4 separate regions of the Homo sapiens genome follow, and all the other regions are linked to region 1. Evidence: promoter capture Hi-C in 16 types of primary human blood cells and fetal thymus (Javierre and others, 2016). All regions are on one chromosome and are shown on one strand. The core of a region is centred on a gene start or on the middle of the fragment in contact, and the rest is flanking DNA. Distances in the headings are between cores, read along the strand shown.

Region 1 (3,967 bases), core at 1,468-3,967:
CTGAGGTCAGAAGTTCAAGACCGGCCTGGCCAACATGGTGAACTCCCATCTCTACTAAAAATATATATATAAAAAAAAATTAGCTGGGCATGTTGGCAGGCACCTGTAGTCCCAGCTACTCGTGAGGCTGAGGCAGGAGAATTGCTTGAACCCGGGAGGTGGAGGCTGCTGTCAGCCGAGCACCACACCACTGCACTCCAGCCTGGGTGACAGAGCAAGACTCTGTCTCAAAATAAAAACAAAAACAAACAAAAAAACCACAACAACAAAAAGAAAACATACTGGTAGTCTCTGAAAAGGGAAACTTACTTTTCATTGTACTCCCCTTTGTAATATTCAAATGTTTGCCCCATACACGTTATTTCTTTAAACTGTCTTTCCACATGATAAACCTTGGTTTGTCTATATCCCCCGACCCTGTTATGATGAGATGGACCCCAGACCTCACATCATTTCCATCCACAAATGCTTTGGGATGCAGCTCTAAGAAGAGACTTCAGAAGTGTTTACATATTGTTCAAATCAACAAGAAGCCCTCATCATCAGGGCTAGAGTTGAATATGCCAATCACTGAAGGCAATGATATTTGTTTGAATCCGGACCCAACAAGGTACCGATTTGGCATTCGGTAGATAAACGTCTTAAATCCAGCTTATTCTGGAAGCTCCCCCTTCCCTCTCCCTCTTTCATTTGCTTTTCCAGTTTCCTTTGTGTAGAAATCAGATTGTCTGTCCTCTAAAGCTTCCCAGATTAAAGCTCCCCGGGGCCCTCTATCTCTGCACGTCTTGTCAACTGTACGAAGGTGTGGTTTTCTACAAGAATCCTCCTCAGACAGCACTGCATACTTTCTATGGTATCACATCAAAGATAATTTTTCACGAAAAAACGGCTTTTAAAAATACCTGTGGAGATTTGGCCTTATTTGTAATATCGTAATTTAAATAGGGATGTGTTCAGGTATTATACATAATTAAAATTAATCTCCAATTCACTTTTAACAGGTCCTCTGTTCATTAAAAGGGAATATGGCTTCATCCTCCACAGGCTGAGTAATGTTCATGCAGCCACTGCGCAATACCAGTGAGACTAGTTAGGAGGACAAGAGTCACCAAATCAGCAACAACGTGACCCAGTGGTGCAAGTCTTCCGAATCCCACGCTACCATCCCAGCACCCCGTGGACCAAGAGTGGGTGGGAGGGCATCATTTCCAGAACTGTAACATAGATCTTCCTGCCTCTCGGGGGCATTCTGAAGACCAGAAGGCAGGGGACACAGGAAAAGGAACTGAGCAAGTCATGACGAAGCAGAACCCTGGGAAGGGTTGGCAATAACAAACACAACCCCTGCCACCCCCACCCCAGACAGGTTCTACCTGTTCCATCGGGTCCCAATTCCAGGGTCCACCAGCTGCACACACCAGTCCCAGGGCTAGGGCACAGGCACCCTCCTGCCTAACTCGCCTGCTTGCTCCATAGGCCATACCTTTTAGGAGAAATGAAGGGAATGCAGAGAAGCAACACAACAAAGACCTCCGCATAGAGGAAGGTGGCAACTGCAGTCCACTGCAGACTCATCCTGTTGCTAGAAGGTTTCCCACAGGAAGATGTGAGCTTGTTTCCTGGCAGGGCACAAAAGGTACGGGACTTGTAAGCGCTGGGCAGCCAAGAACATCCAGTTCAGTTACCCTGCGAGGCTGGGGCCGCCACTCTCCACCCTGACCCCCTGCACTTTGCTTCAAAGTCTCTGATGCGCTGGCGGAAGCAGGGCTCCACTCGGCAGGGCCTCTTGGCCAGCAGCGTTCACAGGCCCCACAAACTTCCGTTCGCTGGTCAATTACCTGCCCCCTCCAGCACGTGTGTCAACACGTCCAGAGCGGCCTCTCCCGACGATCCCTGCCCCAGGAAGCCCGAGATTTCCGACGCCCGTTTAACTGAAAGGCGTTCTTCGGGAAGAGCAGTGCCAGGGCACCAAGAGGAGGACGCCTCGGCACCCATCGGGCGCTCCCTTCCCCGCCAGGCAGAACTCAGCCGCAGAGGCGGGCGCTCTGCGGGCCCAAATCCCCGCTACCAGGCAGGCCCAAGGCCGCACCTAGTCCAAGCGCTGCCGACGCCCCCGCCTCCCACCGTCCCCACGGCGCCCGCGGAGAGAAACCGGCACCTCCCTCGAGGATCCAGCGGCCTTCCGCCCGGGGCCGCTTCGCCTCCGGTGGGCTGGAGGCCCGCAAGAGCGACTCCTAGAGGGCAGGATTCGGGACCAAGCGCAAAGGCAGGTCTCGACCAAGCACCTCAAGGCCCCATACGGAGAAAGTTCTAGACGCAGTATCCTCAGAAGCCAGGGGTCCTTACAGTAGCCCTCGCGGGCCCCAGCGCCCACCCAGAGCGAGGGGCCTCCGACTTGGCCCCGGCCTGGCACACCGTCCCGGAGGCCCATCCCGGCCGCTCCTCCAGGTGGGGCTTCACCGCCCCCCGCCCCGCCCCCGAGACCAGCTTCTAGAGGCGCCGCCCGGTTTCCCCTCGCCCCTGCCTCTCACACGCAGGTAGGCTGCGGGCCCCGAGATTCCCCGGCCCCCGGGCCTCCCCGCGCCGCTCGCCTCTCTCCCTCGTCGATGGGCCGGGGAGCCTCCGCGGTCCCGGAGCCCAGCCCGGCGCGCGGAGCCCGCTCACCGAGTTTCCCACAGTCAACGTGCAGGCCCCGCCGCAGCAACAGAACTCTCCCACAGCAGCCCCGGCCCCGCCCCTCATACCGCGGCCGGAAACCGGAAGCGCCCGCCGGGCACCGCCCACCAGCCCTCGCGAGGCCCCGGAGGCTCCGCCCACCTCCGCTTCCCACCCCGCCCCGGAGCGGAGGGCCGGCGCTCCGAGCGGGAGAGGAAGAGGCGCCTCGGGCTCCGGGCGAGCAGGGCGGGGTGGAGCGAGCACGCGGGCGGGGCGGGGCGGGGCTTTGTCGGGCCGGCGAGGGCCGCTTCTCTAGTCCGCGCGGCCGTCCCACGTCTCTGTGGTGCGGGAGGGGCCCCGCCGAGGGGCGAGAACGGGAGGTGGGGGTGTGGGCGGGCCCCGCCGAGGGGCGAGAACAGGGTGGGGCTCCCGCGCCCGGACTCCGCCCCTCGCCCCTCCTCCGCCTCCTCCCCTTCCCCCGACTCGCCCCTGGGGAAGAGTGGGTGGGGATTCTGGGCCGGTGGAGGAGTCACTGTCGCTTCAGCCAGGCTGCGGAGCGGACGGACGCGCCTGGTGCCCCGGGGAGGGGCGCCACCGGGGGAGGAGGAGGAGGAGAAGGTGGAGAGGAAGAGACGCCCCCTCTGCCCGAGACCTCTCAAGGCCCTGACCTCAGGGGCCAGGGCACTGACAGGACAGGAGAGCCAAGTTCCTCCACTTGGGCTGCCCGAAGAGGCCGCGACCCTGGAGGGCCCTGAGCCCACCGCACCAGGGGCCCCAGCACCACCCCGGGGGCCTAAAGCGACAGTCTCAGGGGCCATCGCAAGGTTTCCAGTTGCCTAGACAACAGGCCCAGGGTCAGAGCAACAATCCTTCCAGCCACCTGCCTCAACTGCTGCCCCAGGCACCAGCCCCAGTCCCTACGCGGCAGCCAGCCCAGGTGACATGCCGGTGCTCTCCAGGCCCCGGCCCTGGCGGGGGAACACGCTGAAGCGCACGGCCGTGCTCCTGGCCCTCGCGGCCTATGGAGCCCACAAAGTCTACCCCTTGGTGCGCCAGTGCCTGGCCCCGGCCAGGGGTCTTCAGGCGCCCGCCGGGGAGCCCACGCAGGAGGCCTCCGGGGTCGCGGCGGCCAAAGCTGGCATGAACCGGGTATTCCTGCAGCGGCTCCTGTGGCTCCTGCGGCTGCTGTTCCCCCGGGTCCTGTGCCGGGAGACGGGGCTGCTGGCCCTGCACTCGGCCGCCTTGGTGAGCCGCACCTTCCTGTCGGTGTATGTGGCCCGCCTGGACGGAAGGCTGGCCCGCTGCATCGTCC
Region 2 (3,967 bases), core at 727-3,226, 720 kb before region 1:
GGAGACCCCTGTCTCTACAAAAAAAATTTAAAAAGTGTCTGGGTGTGATGGCACATGCCTGTGGTCCCAGCTACTCCTGAGGCTGAGGTAGGAGGATTGCTTCAGCTCGGGAGGTTGAGGCTATACTGAGCTGTGACTGCACTCCAGCCTGGCCAACAGAATGAGACCCTGTCTCAAAAAACAAACAAAAAAAGATTTCACATACAAGAGCATGCAATGTTTGGCTTCCTGTGTCTGGTTTATTTCACTTAGCATAATATCCTCAAGGTTCATTCATGTTATTGCCAAGGGCAGCATTTCCTTCTTTTTTTAAGGCTGCTTGTGAATATATATATATATATATATAAATAAAACATATATAAAACATATATATGTTATATATATAACATATATATGTTATATATATAATATGAATATATAATATATGATATGAATATATAGTATATTCATATTATATATAATATATATAATAAAGAAAATTATATATAATATATATAATATATAATACATATACTATATAATATATATAAAATATATATATAATATATATAAATAATATATATATAAATATATGTTATATATATTATATATAAAATATATATAAATATATATTATATATATTATATATAATATATATATAATATATAATATATATAATATATAAAATATATATTATATAATATATATTATATTATATATTAAATATTATATAAAAATATATATAAGACATTTATATATAATATATTATATATATTATATATAATATATATAATATAGATATATAAAAAACATTTTCTTTATCCATTCATCTGTCAGTGGTCACTTAGGTTGTTTTCTTATCTTAGCTATTGTGAATAATGCTGAAATGGACAAGAGAGTCCAGATACCACTTAGAGATAGTGATTTTATTTGCTTAGGATATCTATCCATAGTGGAATTGCTGGATCATACAGTAGCATACATGGACAATTAATTTTCAACAAAGCTGCCAAGAATACACAATGAGGAAAGTGAGATGGAGCAGGGACCCCGTCTCAGGGGTCTGCAGGCCCCCTTAAGCATATAAATAAAGGAAAATGTTGAGTTCTTTCAGGGGCAATGCCAGGCACCTAGCTAGCCCTGAGAAGTAAATAAGCAAGTTGATAAGCAAGAAGGTAATAGCTTAAAACAACAGCCAAGGAAGCTACAATCACAGGATGTTTTCTTTCCCTATAGAAACTAAAGATAACATGTTAACATATATCTCTGAGTTGTTTTTCAGAAACTTGGATCCCCACCAAACTGATCAGCTGGCATGCAGACCCCAGAAAAGGGGGAGCTGAGGACTGAACTCTGACCACCACTCTTTGTTCCAAACTTCTTCATGAGGGGCCTGGAGGAAATCACATCCATCTGTCAGAGCTAATATTCTTTTCTGCTGACCCAAAAATTTTAAACAAAGCTTCTCTTGCTTAACCAACTGCAAACCAAAAGACCTTTGAACCTACTTATGGCCTGTAAGCCCTCACTTCAAGATATCCCACCCTTTTAGGCCAAAACCAATGGGTAACCTCTGTGTAATGATTTATGAATTAGCCTGTAACTTCTGCTTTCCTGAAATTTACTCCTACCTTTAAAAGCCCTTACCTGCAAGCCATCACGGAGCTCTGGATTTGAGCGTTAGCTGCCTGATCCTCCTTGCTTAGTGCCCTGCAAATAAATGTCTTCCTTTCCACCACTGCAAACCTCAGTGTGGATATCTGATCTTACTGTGATGGGCAAGACAACTCCAGTTCAGTTCAATAACACTTGGCCACAACTCAAAAGCCCTGAGTGGGTGTCTTGCCAATAGCATATCAGCCCCTGGCTATGAGCACCCTTGGACCCTGTCCAGTAGCTGCCTGAATTATTTTATTCAGGGATGGATCTGTGTATTTGGCTGCCACCAAGGCATCACTGGCTTGTGTTGCTTTTACTTTTGCAGCATTAGAAATGAGACACTTGGCTGGGAAGACATTTTTTGGCAGGTGACAAATTTGTGGGCAATAGCCCCAAGGTATATTTTCTTCAAACACTACGTTCTGCATTGGCAGGACATCTGGCCTTGCTTTGGCAATTTACGGGACTCTGCTTCATCATAGTGTGTTTAGTAGGGAATACTCCATAAGCAACTGAAGGGATGGAGACTTTGAGAAATCACATTTTGATTTTGATTTGCTTGCTTGACAATCTGCCTAAAGCCCAGCTGAGGCATTAAGGGTTTTTCACCTAAGGTCTTGTCATCTAAAATGGAAACTACAAATTATGTTCCTCCTTGTAGCCCATTATGGTGCATTCTGCAGAATCGGGCCATTTTTAGCTTTGAGCCCATGAAAAAGAAAAATGTTTTTAATGTTGAAATTCTGCCTGACCACGGTATCCCCTAGGATCCAGGGAATGGTAGCCAGAATTTAGATATCTAAATTACATTATAATTTTTCAATTAGAATTGTTTTGTGAACAAGAAGGTAAATGGGATGAAATTCTGAATGTACAAGCTTTTATGCTTTTGTACCAAAGTGAGCTAATTCAAAGAAGGTATAATTTGCATAGAATCATGGTTGAAAGAAATGCCTCTAAGGTGAAAGAGGTAAAGGTTTTACCCGGTTCTCAAAAATCAGAAGATGACTTACTACTTCAACAAATGAATGCACCAATCCTATCTCTCCACCTTATGGGGGGCGAGATATGGAAGCCAGAGCAATGGCCCCGCCCCCCTGCTCAGGCAGGAATGGGAGCCCCTATTACCCTGGCTGGACTGGGGAATAATAGTGACGTAAACAGGCCAGGAGTGCTCTCTCCTTCACACACCTGACAGGGCACTCAATATCGTCAGGGAGCCACTCTGGTTGAGGTAGGGCAATTCCATTAGGCAAGTACCCATTGGCAGAATCAATGCCCAGGGTCAGCCAGCGGGACCTGTGTGGGTACACGTGCCATTCTCAGTCTCTGACCTATACCATTGGAAGGATAACATGCTTACCTACTGGGGTGACCCAAGGAGGATGGAAAATGTGTTCTCCATTTACACTACTCATAATCCTAACTGGGAGAATGTGCAATATTTACAAAATGCACTACTTACCTCCAAAGAGTGGAGAATAGTTTTAGAAAAAGCTAGAGAAGAAGCTGACCAGTAACATACTGAGACTGCCAGCAATCTGGTCTGGGCAGCTACTGCTGAGGCTATAGCCTAACACAAGCAGTCTTAGCTCCTCCCAGCCTCCCATTGGCCCAAGTGTCTGGGCTTTAAGATGTTCTCAATAATATTGGTGGTGTGTTTTCCTGCTCCGTGGTCAAAAAGGGCATCTTGGAGCTCACATGCTTGTTCTGGTGGCACCTCAATGTCCAATTTTCCCAGAGCAAAGGTTACTGTGGCAATTAACTTAGTTAACACGTCCTGTCCCAACGAAGGGACTGGGCATTCTGGCATGTGCAAGATCCTGATAGGATCCAAATCATGAGAGTCAAGCTCATTGCAAGCATTAAAGAGATTGAATTTTAGCAGTCCTGAGGAAAGGGGTCTCAAAGTAGTGTAGCTTTAATAAATTTCAGGAAATGTGACAGAGGCCAAATGAAAACTCATCTGAAAGTTTTTGGAGATAATTTTTGAAGCCTCCTGGCAATGTCAACTGAGATAGATCCTGAGGCCCCTGAGAACCTCAGATTAATTAACATAACTTTTATTAGTCAAAGCACTCCTGGCATTCAGAAAAAGCTATAAAAATTAGAAAGTGTTTTTGGAATGTCTATCTCTTAACTGTATAGATTGCTTTTAAGGTGTTCAAAAACTGAGATCAAGCATTGGATCATAAAGAGCAACAGAGGATGGAAAAACAGGCATCTTTGTTGGTTGCTGCTCTGTTCACAGCACTTGAAGTAAAGAAGCCCAATGAGAAGGTAGACACCCCTGGAAACAAGAAAGGCCTCCAGAAAGGCGATCCATAGA
Region 3 (3,175 bases), core at 676-3,175, 710 kb after region 1:
CCCCAGCCTCCCCAGCTCACCTGACATCCCTGCCACCTTCCCCAGGTTCATTCTGGCCAACCGCCTCTACCCAGTGTCTGCCCGGCACTGGTTTACCATGGAGCGCCTCGAAGTCCACAGCAATGGCTCCGTCGCCTACTTCAATGCTTCCCAGGTCACAGGGCCCAGCATCTACTCCTTCCACTGCGAGTATGTCAGCAGCCTGAGCAAGAAGGGTAGTCTCCTCGTGGCCCGCACGCAGCCCTCTCCCTGGCAGATGATGCTTCAGGACTTCCAGGTATGGAGCGGGCGTGGCCCAGCTTCAGGTGGGGGAGCCCAGGCTAGTGGTTGAGAGACGAAGAGAGGCTTGGGCTTGGGCATGTAGTTGAGAGTCCTGTCCCTGCGCTGCCCCTGTCCCAGTTCTTGCTGGGCCTCCCAACGGTCCTTTCTGACCCGTGTCTGTGTGTCTGCCAGATCCAGGCTTTCAACGTAATGGGGGAGCAGTTCTCCTACGCCAGCGACTGTGCCAGCTTCTTCTCCCCCGGCATCTGGATGGGGCTGCTCACCTCCCTGTTCATGCTCTTCATCTTCACCTATGGCCTGCACATGATCCTCAGCCTCAAGACCATGGATCGCTTTGATGACCACAAGGGCCCCACTATTTCTTTGACCCAGATTGTGTGACCCTGTGCCAGTGGGGGGGTTGAGGGTGGGACGGTGTCCGTGTTGTTGCTTTCCCACCCTGCAGCGCACTGGACTGAAGAGCTTCCCTCTTCCTACTGCAGCATGAACTGCAAGCTCCCCTCAGCCCATCTTGCTCCCTCTTCAGCCCGCTGAGGAGCTTTCTTGGGCTGCCCCCATCTCTCCCAACAAGGTGTACATATTCTGCGTAGATGCTAGACCAACCAGCTTCCCAGGGTTCGTCGCTGTGAGGCGTAAGGGACATGAATTCTAGGGTCTCCTTTCTCCTTATTTATTCTTGTGGCTACATCATCCCTGGCTGTGGATAGTGCTTTTGTGTAGCAAATGCTCCCTCCTTAAGGTTATAGGGCTCCCTGAGTTTGGGAGTGTGGAAGTACTACTTAACTGTCTGTCCTGCTTGGCTGTCGTTATCGTTTTCTGGTGATGTTGTGCTAACAATAAGAAGTACACGGGTTTATTTCTGTGGCCTGAGAAGGAAGGGACCTCCACGACAGGTGGGCTGGGTGCGATCGCCGGCTGTTTGGCATGTTCCCACCGGGAGTGCCGGGCAGGAGCATGGGGTGCTTGGTTGTTTCCTTCCTAATAAAATAAACGCGGGTCGCCATGCGTTGGGCCTCTTGTCGCTCATTTCTGCGCTGGGCTTTAGGCGCGTGCTCGCCGGAGGGATGCGGGAGGATGGAGCCTGGCGAGGGGGAGGCGAAGAGGCATCCGCGGAGACCGGGAGGGGCTTTAGCAAGCTGGGCCCTAACCGCTCAGGGTAGGGAGGGGCGGTCGGGCCGAGTCCCGGTGCGCTTCGGCGTCTCAGGAGGCCGTCGTGACAATGGCAGCCTTCGCGTCGTGAGGGGGCCGCCCCAGGCTGCCGCAGCGGCGCGCGCCCGGCCGCGGGGCCGCGCCGAGACTCCCGGGGGGGTGGGCGGGGGTGGGGAGGTGGGCGGGCGCGCGCGGGGCGGGGCGGGGCGGGGCGCGGCGGGTGGGGCGGGGCGCGCGCGGCTCCCGCGCACGGATTCTTCCTGGGCCGCAGCACCGGCCGCCGGCCCGCCCCGCCCGCCCCGCCCCGCGCCTCTCTAGACTCTCGGCGAGCAGCGTCGCCCGCGGAGCCGCGCTGGTGCTGTGGCCCGGGCCCTGGCAGCCCTCCCGGGAGGCGAGCCGGGGAGGCGGTGGCCCCTGCCGGTTGCGGCGGGGCGCGGGAAGAGGCGGGACTCTTTGACGCGGCGGAGGGGTCGGGCGACGGCCGACGCGCCGCCATCTTTGGTCCAGTGCGGTGGCGGCGGCGGCGGTGGCGGCGGCGACTGCTGCGGTGAAGGAGGAGGAGGAGCCGAGCGGGCGCTGGCACCGAGGCCTGACCATGGACGAGGAATACGATGTGATCGTGCTGGGGACCGGTCTCACCGTAAGTGCGGCCCCGGCGCCCCTGGCCCTGCGTCGTGCCCTCGCCATCCCCCGCGATGATGCGGCCGCCGGCCCATCCTCTGGTCACTGCCATCTTCTGCGCTCCGCTCCCCGAAAAGCCGGCGCCGTGCCCACCCCGCTGCTCCCCCAGCGACGTCGCCTCTGCTCGTTGCCATGACCCCATCTCCCCGAAGAGGCCCCCTTCCTGGCCGCCTCCTGGGCTACCCGGGTCCGACCCCCGGCGCCCTCCCATCTTCCCTACCCCTGCCCGCTGGACCGGAAAACGCACCCCCACTCGGCCCGATGCCCACGACCCCGCCCACCCATCGCCCCCACCCATCACGGCATCCACCCGTCGCCCGCACCCATTGCCCGCCTAGCGTTGCCTCTCAGCGTCCGTTCCCATCTTGCGCTAATCCCGGTGGGGATGAAGTAGAAGGACCTGGGGTCAGGGGGCCTCGCCAGAGTGGGCCCTCAGCCCGCCTCCTCATCGTCTTCTGGGGCCAGGGGATCCAGGGAATGTTCCAGAAGGAACAGCAGTGGGGGCAGTAAGCACATTCCCGCAACCCCACCTCGGTTGCCCATGGAGACCTCAGGCTGGGTAGCATCTGCAGCCTTTGTCCTTGGGCTAGTGACAGTGACTGGTGAGGGTGTTTATCTTCCCCCTTTCCCCGAAAACCCCGTTGGCCTACTCCCCTCAGAGACTCTTCTTCCTCGGTCCAGGCCCAGATGCCCCTCCTCAGCGGCAGGGGCTCCTGCTATTTGAAGAAAGAGCAGTCCAGGGTGGGGCCTACAATTTCAAGGACTGTGCTAAGCCTTTCTTTTCCTCCCTTTCGAGTGTCCTTTGCAGTCCAGCTGGGTCTTCTCTGTGCCTTATTGTGTTTTATCCGCCTTTTTGTGCGGCTCTGCGTAGGTAGATGCCTCTCGGCGTGTTGGTACTGGAAGGCCATCCTGTGTCTGCTGGATGCCCTGCCTCCCTCAAAGCCTCCGTTATTTCACTCTCCGCCTTGTGAGGGGGACGGGACTCCTTTGCCCAGCAAGGTTGCAATGGAGAGTGTGGTCGGATGAAGCCATCACCCCAATTTTAGGCGAGGCAACTAGCCAG
Region 4 (3,967 bases), core at 1,052-3,551, 680 kb after region 1:
TTCTAGTTTTAATTTTCTGAGGAAGTGTCATATTGGTCTCCATGGTGACTGCACCATTTTACGTTCTCGCCAACAGTGCACAAGCGGTCAAGCTTATTCTTTTATTGTTTATTTATTTGGGACAAAGTCTTGCTCTGTCGCCCAGACTGGAGTGCAATGGTGCCATCACAGCTCACTGCAGCCTCCTGAATTCTATGTTTCCCAGGCTGGTCTCAAACTGCTGGACTCAAGTGATCTTCCTACCTCAGCCTCCCAAAGTGCTGGGATTTTTTTTTTTTTTTTTTTTTTTTTTTTTTTTTTTTTTGAGACAGAGTCTCACTCTGTCGCCCAGACTGGAGAGCAGTGGCGTGATCTCGGCTTACTGCAACCTCAGCCTCCTGGGTTCAAGCAACTCCCTGCCTCAGCCTCCCGAGTAGCTGGGATTACAGGCACCCACCACCACGCCCAGCTAATTTTTATATTTTTTAGTAGAGACAGGGTTTCACCATCTTGGCCAGGATGGTCTCGAACTCCTGACTTCAGGTGATCAGCCGGCCTTGGCCTCCCAAAGTGCTGGGATTACAGGTGTGAGCCACTGCGCCCAGCCAGTGCTGGGATATTATAGGCCTGACCCACTGCGCCTGGCCTAGTCTACCTTTTTTTTTTTTTTTTTTTTTTTTTTTGAGATGGAGTCTTGCTCTGTCACCAGGCTGGAGTGCAGTGGCGTGATCTTGGCTCACTGCAACCTCTGCCTTCCGGGTTCAAGTGATTCTCCTGCCTCAGCCTCCTGAGTAGTTGGGGCTACAGGCGTGAGCCACCGCGCCCGGCCCCCCCCCTTTTTTTTTTTTTTTTTTTTGATAGTCTCATTCTGTTGCTCAGGCTGGAGGGCAGTAATGTGATCTCAGCTCACTGCAACCTCCACCTTCCAGGCTCAAGTGATGCTCTCACCTCAGCCTTCCGAGTAGATGGGACTACAGGTGCATGCTGCCACACCAAGCTAATTTTTTTTTTCTTTTTTTGAGATGGAGTCTCACTCTGTCTCCCAGGCTGGAGTGCAGTGGCTTGATCTCAGTTCACTGCAACCTCCGTCTCCCAGGCTCAAGAGATTATCCTGCCTCAGCCTCCCAAGTAGCTAGGATTACAGGCACGTGCCACCACACCCGGCTAATTTTTGTACTTTTAGTAGAGACAGGGTTTCACCATGTTGGCCAGGCTGGTCTCAAACTCCTGACCTCAAGTAATCCTCCCACCTCAGCCTCCCAAAGTGCTGGAATTACAGGTGTGAGCCACCGCGCCCGGCTACCAAGCTAATTTTTAAAATTTGTTTGGAGAGATGGGGTTTCACCATGTTGTTCCAAGACCCCAGTGCTTTTCGCCTCCATTAGCAACTACAGGAACATCTTCGTTCATCTCTGTCTCCCCACTTGTGAGATGTTCTCTTTAAGATAAACTCCCGGCAGTGAAGGGTGTGTGCATTTTAAAAGGTCTCAGATATGGCCAAATCATCCCCATTGCAACCTGTGATGGGGACTCTTTCCCATGCCCCTGCCACCACTGGGGAGCCCTTCTTGTTCATCTCACCAGCTGGAGCCCCCCTCTCTCAGTTTATCTTTGTCTCACACTCACCTGACCTTGCAGGGCTCGGCTCCTTGCTCCACGCCCTGTCCATGTGGCTTTTGCATCCTGAGGCATGAGTTCCTCTGCTCTGTCTGCCTGCTTTTCTCTATCAACCTGTCACCTTCCCTTCGGGCTCACTTCCTACCTCTCTGAGGCTCTGTCCGTCTCTGTCTCACTTTCCCTCTCGTCTCTGGTTTCCCTTCTCTGTCTCTCTGTTGCGGTGTCTCTCTCCTGGCTGGGTTTGATGTCTGTTTCTCCCTGACCACCTGCTCTGTCACTCATGCTAGTTTGGGTTCCCTACCCTGGTGCCTATTCTGGGATATACATGGGTATGTGGGCAGCCCTGGGCTGGCACATGCAGCCTTGGAGGCTCTGGCGTCAGGGACCCCCATGAGGGCTACCAGTAAGAACCAGAGAGAGCGACGGTTCCTGGCTTCAGCCCCAAACCCTGGCTGTCAATATCAGCCTTGGTGGGAGCCCTAGGCTTCCCTCTCCCTCTCAAACCCTCCCCAGGCAGAAGGCAACTTCCTCCCTTCTTCCGTCTCCCCAGGGGGCTCCCATACCTGCTCAGACCAGCTTGTCACCAAGTCTGCCTCATCCTTAAGTGGATCGCGATACCCCAGAAGAGCAGCTCCTGCCTGAATAGGGCTAGGAGGGGAAAAAAAAGAGGAAGAGGCTGTGTTCCTGAGCCACCCGGCCAGGAAGGGCCTGGCTGGGCCGGACGCCCCACCCTTGCCAACAGGCAGGCCCGCCCCGTCTCCGCCTCGCCGCCAACAAGGAGGACCAGCACCAGGCCTGGGAACTGCTGACCTGCCCGCCCACCTTCCCACCCAGACCCCGCCTTCCCGGGCCAGCGGGACATGACAGACCTGTGAGTCACTCAAGCCTGGGGCAAGGAGGGGCTGGTGCCTGAGTGAGACCCCGAGCTTCGCTCGCCAGGCCCGTCGCTCAGCTCCCGGTCTGGGTCCCCAGTCAGCAGTTGCTGGGGAAGGCGCAGGAGCTGGAAGTCATGCCTGATGCCACGAGACCGGGCACCCCAAGGGCGTGAGTCTTCTGTCCCTGTTGTTGGGTTCTGAGTCCCAGTGTGGCTGCACACTTCTGAGTTAGGGGTGTTTGATGCAAGCGCTCTGGAGACCCAAAGAGAGGGACAGTCCACACATGATCTGGCCACAGTCGTGAAGTCAAGGGAGGACTGAGGATCTGCCCCAGAGAGGAGGAGACCCAGGGAGCTGGCAGTCCAACGTCCTGGGGGTCCTGCAGTAATGCTGTTGGGACAAATGAGGTGCTCGGACAGGGTCTGTGAGCAGGAGGTGGGGCTGAATCCACTCAGCTTCTCATGGGATGGCTGTAGCTAATGGATTCGACGTGGTAATAGAAGGCTGGACAAATTTTAAAAAATCAATAAATTATGGGCTGGGCGTGGTGGCTCATGCCTGTAATCCCAGCACTTTGGGAGGCTGAGGCGGGTGGATACGAGGTCAGGCGTTCAAGACCAGCCTGGCCAACATAATGAAACCCGTTTCTACTAAAAATACAAAAAATTAGCCCGGCGTGGTGGTGGGCGCCTGTAATCCCAGCTACTCAGGAGGCTGAGGCAGGAGAATTGCTTGAGCCTGGAAGGCGGAGCTTGCAGTGAGCCGAGATCACACCACTGCACTCGCACTCCAGCCCGGGCGACAGTGCGAGACTCCATCTCAAAAAAAAAAATCAATAAATTATGGTTTAAAAATAAAAAACAGGCCAGGTAGGATGACTCACACTTTGGGAGGAGAGGCAGACAGATCACCTGAGGCCGGGAGTTCGAGACCAGCTTGACCAACATGAAGAAACCCAGCCTCTACTAAAAATACAAAAATTAGCCAGGTGTGGTGGCTTGCGCCTGTAATCCCAGCTACTCAGGAGGCTGAGACAGAAGAATCGCTTGAACCTGGGAGGCAGAGGTTGCAATGAGCTGAGATCTCGTCACTGCACTCCAGCCTGGGCAACAGAGCAAGACTCTGTCTCAAAAATAAAAATAAATAAAAATAAAAATAAAAAACTGCCGGGTGCGGTGGCCCATGCCTGTAATCCTAGCACTTTGGGAGGCTGAGGTGGGTGGACTGCCTGAGCTCAGGAGTTCGAGACCAACCTGGGCAACATGGTGAAACCCCATCTCTACTAAAATACAAAAAAAAAAAAAAATTAGCCGGGCGTGGCGACCTGCGCCTGTAGTCCCAGCTACTCAGGAGGCTGAGGCAGGAGAATAGCTTGAACCCGGGAGGCGGAGGTTGCAGTGAGCCGAGATTGTGCCACTGCACTCCAGTCTGGCGACAGAGCGAGACTCCTAAAAAAATAATAATAAATAAATAAATATAAAATAAAAATAAAAAAC

The links. Contacts are between HindIII fragments. The CHiCAGO score rates a contact against its expected background, and 5 or more counts as called.
Region 2: a fragment that was not itself captured here is called in contact with the fragment with the promoter of BCAP31 in region 1 in 1 of 17 cell types (naive CD8 T cells); the score reaches 5.4 in naive CD8 T cells.
Region 3: the fragment with the promoter of GDI1 here is called in contact with the fragment with the promoter of BCAP31 in region 1 in 5 of 17 cell types (monocytes, total B cells, naive B cells and 2 more); the score reaches 6.6 in monocytes.
Region 4: a contact is called between the fragment with the promoter of DNASE1L1 here and the fragment with the promoter of BCAP31 in region 1, in 2 of 17 cell types (naive B cells and total B cells). The highest score is 6.9, in naive B cells.

The regions. Positions count from the first base shown.
Region 1 is chrX:153,721,670-153,725,636 of GRCh38, forward strand. It overlaps BCAP31 (B cell receptor associated protein 31), which reads right to left and starts at 2,718. Exons shown (of 8, transcript NM_001256447.2): 1 at 2,665-2,718; 2 at 1,484-1,619. The coding sequence starts at 1,575. ABCD1 (ATP binding cassette subfamily D member 1) reads left to right here and starts at 3,187. Exons shown (of 10, transcript NM_000033.4): 1 at 3,187-3,967. The coding sequence starts at 3,598. RefSeq lists silencers at 1,997-2,176, 2,387-3,346 and an enhancer at 3,807-3,967. The HindIII fragment of the contact is 9,880 bases long and covers 740-3,967 here.
Region 2 is chrX:152,998,009-153,001,975 of GRCh38, forward strand. No RefSeq gene overlaps it. Among named protein-coding and RNA genes, the nearest start is that of PNMA5, 5.9 kb to the left of the region's middle. The HindIII fragment of the contact is 1,075 bases long and covers 1,440-2,514 here.
Region 3 is chrX:154,435,229-154,438,403 of GRCh38, forward strand. It overlaps GDI1 (GDP dissociation inhibitor 1), which reads left to right and starts at 1,926. Exons shown (of 11, transcript NM_001493.3): 1 at 1,926-2,071. The coding sequence starts at 2,027. ATP6AP1 (ATPase H+ transporting accessory protein 1) reads left to right here. Exons shown (of 10, transcript NM_001183.6): 9 at 46-277; 10 at 454-1,288. The coding sequence ends at 663. RefSeq lists an enhancer at 1,458-1,958. The HindIII fragment of the contact is 14,364 bases long and covers 1-3,175 here.
Region 4 is chrX:154,406,953-154,410,919 of GRCh38, forward strand. It overlaps DNASE1L1 (deoxyribonuclease 1 like 1), which reads right to left and starts at 2,302. Exons shown (of 8, transcript NM_001303620.2): 1 at 2,160-2,302. The HindIII fragment of the contact is 12,936 bases long and covers 91-3,967 here.